Linked DNA regions of Homo sapiens: region 2 is linked to region 1. Evidence: promoter capture Hi-C in human tissues and cell types (Jung and others, 2019). All regions are on one chromosome and are shown on one strand. Each heading gives the region's core, a stretch centred on a gene start or on the middle of the fragment in contact. The rest is flanking DNA. Distances are from core to core; before and after follow the strand shown.

Region 1 (3,004 bases), core at 267-2,766:
ACTTTTATTCTCCCCATTTAACAGGTGAGGACACTGAGGGGCACAGGGATGTAAGTTACCTTCCCTAGGTCCACTATCTAGGAAGTGGTGGGCCAGGGTTTGGTCCATGCTGTCAGCTCCTTGACCCTGCATCTATAACTACTAACTATACTGTGGAGAGCCTCATGAGCTCCTGCGAGGTGTAGAACCTTATCCCGCAGGCGGGGCAGTGGCATGGTCAGGTCTAGGAGTGAAAAGATCCTGCGATGGTTGGAGTTGCGGGCACTGAAGAGGTGAGCCTGGCGTTAGGGGGAGCAGGGGAGACCATCTTCCCCCTGGTGAAATCCTGTTCTAAAATTGGTGATACTCCTGCCTTGGCCTCCCAAAGTGCTAGGATTATGGCCTCATATCTATTTTTAAAAAATAAGAATTCAAGCTGGGTGCGGTGGCTCGCAACTGTAATCCCAGCACTTTGGGAAGCCGAGGCAGGTGGATCACTTGAGTTCAGCAGTTCGAGCCAGCCTGGCCAACATGGTGAAACCCTGTCTCTACTAAAAATACAAAAATAATTAGCCGGGCGTGGTGGCAGATGCCTATGTTCCCAGCTACTCGGGAGGCTGAGGTAGGAGAATCGCTTGAACCCAGGAGACGGAGGTTGCAGTGAGCCGAGATTGCACCACTGCACACCAGCCTGGGCGACAAAGAGTAAGACTCCATCTCAAAAAAAAAAAAAAAAAATTCAAAACCCATCGAGTTGGGATGACGCTTAGTGCTGGGCTTCAGGAAGAGTAGGCAGGAGGGTAGTATGGGAGGTTTCTAGGAGCCACTCTTGGAAGCGGTGCTCCCCACAGATGCCCGATTGCACTGACTGGAACTCGGTCACATGACCACATAACTCGCTCACATGACCACACCTAGCTGCAAAGGTGCTGGGAAATGTGGTACCCTGTTGGGAGGCCACTTCTGGGCTTCAAACCTTCACTGTGAATGGAGCTCACAGGTTTTCTAAAAATGGACATTAAATGAACCAGAGTTGGCCCTAAGGATCTGGCTCACTGCAACCTCCACCTCCCAGGATGAAGCACCTGCCTCAGCCTCCCGAGTAGTAGCTGGGATTACAGGCACACGCCACCATACCGAGCTAATTTTTGTATTTTTAGTAGAGAAGGTGTTTCACCATGTTGGCCAGGCTGGTCTCGAACTCCTGACTTCACATGATCCGCCTGCCTCAGCCTCCCAAAGTGCTAGGATTACAGGCGTAAGCCACCACGCCTGGCCTCAATATTTCTTTTTCTGGGTATTTGAGTATGATATTATATATGATGGTTATTAGACAGCCAGATGCATAGGAGGATTAGCTAATCTGTTTTGAGGAATACTTATCTCCAATATAGTTATATAACGACAACATTCTTTTTTTGAATACTGGTCTCGGGTGCCTAATGACAGAAGGGTGACATCACTAAGGAAGCCTGGAAAGTCCCAGCCCTCCACGTGATCCCACGGATGAAAATAGCTCCGGGTGAGCTCTGGAACAGCTGAAAAAGCTGGAGCAACCAAGCAGGGCCTACAAGCCGAGGAGGGCTGTTTAAAGGCGCAGGGGCCATTTTACCTCCAGGTTGGCCCTGCTCAGGACCAGGAGGAAACACCTCCAGCCCGCGACCTCCTCCCACAGGGGGAAAAGGAAAGCAGGAGGACCACAGAAGCTTTGGCACCGAGGATCCCCGCAGTCTTCACCCGCGGAGATTCCGGCTGAAGGAGCTGTCCAGCGACTACACCGCTAAGCGCAGGGAGCCCAAGCCTCCGCACCGGATTCCGGAGCACAAGCTCCACCGCGCATGCGCACACGCCCCAGACCCAGGCTCAGGCAAGCCGTGGGGGCAGGGAGGGCTGTTTCATCCCGCTGGGGCGGCCATAACCAAGTACCAGGGATTGGGTGCAATTAAATAACAGGATTTCTTTTTCTTTTTTATTTTATTTTATTTTATTTATTTATTTATTTTTTTTTGAGACAGCATCTCGCTCTGTCGCCTAGGCTGGAGTGCAGTGACGCGATCTCGGCTCACGGCAAGCTCCGCCTCCGGGGTTCAAGCGATTCTCCTGCCTCAACCTCCCGAGTAGCTGGGATTACAGGCGCACACCACCACACCCGGCTAATTTTTGTATTTTTAGTAGAGATGGGGTTTCACCATGTTGGCCAGGCTGGTCTCAAACTCCTGAACTCGTGATCCACCCCACTCGGCCTTCCAAAGTGCTGGGATTACAGGCGTGAGCCACCGCGCCCGGCTAGGAATTTATTTTCTAACACTTCTGGAAGCTAGAAGTCCAAGATCAAGGTGTTGGCAGGGTTGGTTTCTCCTGAAGCCTCTTGCAGAGGCCCTAATCTCTCCTTATAAAACCAATCAGGCTGGGCGCGGTGGCTCACGCCTGTAATCCCAGCCCTTTGGGAAGACGAGGCGGGCGGATCCTGAGGTCAGGAGATCGAGATCATCCTGGCTAACACAGTGAAACCCCGTCTCAACTAAAAATACAAAAAATTAGCTGGGCGTGGTGGCGGGCGCCTGTAGTCCCAGCTACTCCGGAGGCTGAGGCAGGAGAATGGCGTGAGCCCGGAAGGCGGAGCTTGCAGTGAGCCGAGACTGCGCCACTGCACTCCAGCCTAGGGCACAAAGCGAGACTCCATCTCAAAAAAAAATAAAATAAAATAAACCAATCAAACCAAATTCCAGGCCACCCTCAGGACCCCACTTTAACTTAGTCACCCCTTTAAGAGCCTATGTCTGGCCGAGTGCGATGACTCATGCCTATAATCCCAGCGTTTTGGGAAGCCAAGGTGGAAAGCTCTCTTGAGCCTAGGAGTTCAAGACCAGCCTGGGTGACATAACAAGACCTGATCTCTACAAAACATAAAAAATTTAGCTGGAGATGGTAGCATGTACCTGCACTTCCAGCTACTCGGGAGGCTGAGGTGAGAGGCTCGCTTGAGCCCAGGAGGCTGAGGCTGCAGTGAGCCACGATCACACCA
Region 2 (3,004 bases), core at 180-2,679, 100 kb after region 1:
GGTCCATAACACAATGTCTGGAACTTAAAGATCACTCAGTAAGTGTATACTGAATAATTTATCTGTAAATACACGCAAAGGGAACTTGGAATACTGAGTTTCACCACAAGTATGTGGGTGTGGTCTCAGGGAGGCATGACAAAAATGAGATTATAACTAGAAAAGTGGATACCCCATCAAGTACATTGTTCCTTGTCTGAATAAACTGTGAGTTCCTAAACTTTCAGGAATTTGTCAGTTCTTTGAGAACCCAGAACTTCTCTCTAGGAGAATATTCATATGCCCTTATGGTTGAGATGGCTGTGTGTTCACCGAAATCAGTTTCACTTTCCTCCCAAATGCACTGCTACACTGCATCTCCCAGACTTGCTTGCAGTTAAGAGCCATATCAGTTTTGGCCAGTGGAAGCAGGAGAAAGGGATGAATGTCACTTCCTGTCCTGGCCAAAAGAAAACAAACAAACAAAAAACCCTCTCCTCCAAGGTCCTCCAGACTCTCTTGATACTTGTCTACAAGCTAAAAGCAAAGAAACCTCAGCAGACTCTGAAACCGTAGGGGATGTTGGGGCTCCAGGATGTAAGAAGCTTGGATCCCTGAATGACCATGTGGAGCATTGTTTCCTGACCAGATGCACCCTTCTGGGATTTTGCAGAACCAAGAAAAAAAAAATGTTATTGTGTCAAGCAGCTGATAGTTTGGATTTTGTTTGTTACAATAGCTATTCTCACTACCCTCATAAATACACACTTTTTTTAAAACGTAAATTCCAGTTTTCATGGACTCTAATCCTCACTCAATGACCCCAGGTTAGGAATCTCTGGAATAAAGAATGTGGGATCAAGGTGCATCAATATGCAAATGGTTCCTGAGCCTTATCCAGAGGAGAACGATTTATCAGGCAGAAAAGGATTCTAATTGTGAAGAATGACTCACCAAGGCTTGAGTGAATGACATGTAAGCAAGGTTTCCTCTTGTTCTGTTTCCATGCTTACCTTACAGTCTTTTAGTGGTTAATTTAGATTCTGAGATATATTAAGATATAATTAGGTTGTCCAGGTTGGGGTCTGAAGGTTCTGTTCACTGGAATTATATAGCCTGCCTTTTACCCCCACCATGTGCTGAGCATTATGAAAGATGCTGGTGCCCATTATTTTATTTGATCTTCAAAATAACCCCGTGAGATAAATGCCGTTACTTCTCTTTTACAGTCTGGAAATTGACTTCAGAGAGCTTATGTTGCTTGACCAAAGTTACCAAGAAAAGAAGTGGCAGATCCAGGGTCCAAACCCCAGGTCTTCTGAGATTTTTTTTTTTTTTTTTTGAGAGGGAGTTTTGCTCTTGTCTCCCAGTCTGGAGTTCAGTGGTACGATCTCGGCTCACTGCAACCTCCACCTCCTGGGTTCAAGCGATTCTCCTGCCTCAGCCTCCCAAGTAGCTGGGATTACAGGCGCTCACCACCATGCCTGGCTAATTTTTGTATTTTTAGTAGAGATGGGGTTTCACCATGTTGGGCAGGCTGCTCTGGAACTCCTGACCTCAAGTGATCTGCCTGCCTCAGCCCTGCAAAGTGCTGGGATTACAGGTGTCAGCCACCGCGCCCAGCTTCTTCTGAGATTTTTGCTAAGCCATCTCCTGCCTACTTAGTTCCAGGAATCTTTGCTTTGCCCCATTCATTCTTCTCCAGCTTCTAAATCCTCCCTGTTGCTTTGAGTGTCCTTACCTCCACTTGACTCATAGGAATAGAGAAGGAAGGTTGTCCATCCCAACAGGTAACTGGACCATCGGGTCATCTTGGCTGCCCTCTTCTCTGTGGAAAAGAAGACAAAAATTTTCATCCCACACGTCCCCTTCCTCTTCCCATTACCTCCTAGATTTGACGTCATACATGCCATTTTTCTTTCCATCCACAGTAATTTAAAAAATAGACCAGGCATGGTAGCTCACACCTGTAATCCCAGCATTTTGGGAGACCAAGACAAAGGATCGCTTAAAGCCAGAAGTTCAAGACCAGCCTGGACAACATAGTGAGACCCCACCTCTACAAAATTTTCATTTAAATTAGCCAGGCATGGTGGTGTATGCCTGTGGTCCCAGCTATTCAGGAGGCTGAGGCAAGAGGATCACTTGAGCCCAGGAGGTCAAGGCTGCAGTGAGCTATGATTGTGCCACTGTACTATAGCCTCAGTAACAGAGTGAGACCCTATCTCTAAATACACACATACACACACATATACCACACACACACATATGTTTCTACATATGTGTGTGTGATATGTGTGTGTGTTTCTACATGTGTGTATGTACAGGTTTGTAGCCTGGAAGCACAGGCTGTATCATATAGCCCAGGTGTGTAGCAGGCACTACCATCTAGGTTCGTGTGAGTACACTCTATGATGCTCACACAAGGACGACATTGCCTAACAATGCACTTCTCAGACTGTATTCCTGATGCATAACTCTACTGTCATGTACTGTCCTTAGGAAAGTGTGATGGAAAGAAAAAAATGAAACACTTGTTGAACACTTACTGTACTCCAGGCTCGATGTTCAACACACTTTATGTCACTTGGCTTTCATAAATCAAGTAATACATGTTTTAACCCCCATTTTATAGATGCAGAAACTAACACTCAGACCTGGATTGGTCACCCAGGGAGGAAAGGGCAGGGTCTGGGTTCTAACCCATATTAATGGCTGCAAGGGCCCTTCTCATTGTTGGAACCTTAACAATAGCCTTAAATCCTCCCCATGAATCACACTCATCTCCTTAGCTGGAGACGAAAGTCCTTCAGTGATTAGCATTTACCGTCCTCATTAACCATAGTTATTACTAGCTCTATTTTCCTTCGTGCCGTTTCCTTGATGACAGATGACCATGCCATTCTCAGCAGCAACAAGAACCCACAGTTTGGAATTGGTGGTCTGGATTTGACTTGAGTCTCAGCTACTATCACCACTTCTACGGCTGGCTCCCAATTATTGACTGCTTACTGTATACCGGATG

The links. The method cuts DNA at HindIII sites, captures the fragments that hold promoters and counts their contacts. A contact is called where the count stands out against the background at its distance.
Region 2: a fragment that was not itself captured here is called in contact with the fragment with the promoter of PLA2G4C in region 1 in 6 of the 25 tissues and cell types used here (H1 embryonic stem cells, liver, lymphoblastoid cells and 3 more).

What each region holds. Positions count from the first base shown.
Region 1 is chr19:48,109,329-48,112,332 of GRCh38, reverse strand. PLA2G4C (phospholipase A2 group IVC) reads left to right here and starts at 1,516. Exons shown (of 17, transcript NM_003706.3): 1 at 1,516-1,846. RefSeq lists an enhancer at 1,541-1,700. The HindIII fragment of the contact is 42,556 bases long and covers 1-3,004 here.
Region 2 is chr19:48,007,454-48,010,457 of GRCh38, reverse strand. ELSPBP1 (epididymal sperm binding protein 1) reads right to left here. Exons shown (of 7, transcript NM_022142.5): 2 at 1,721-1,807. The coding sequence starts at 1,790. Among named protein-coding and RNA genes, the nearest start is that of ELSPBP1, 14 kb to the right of the region's middle. The HindIII fragment of the contact is 4,775 bases long and covers 1-3,004 here.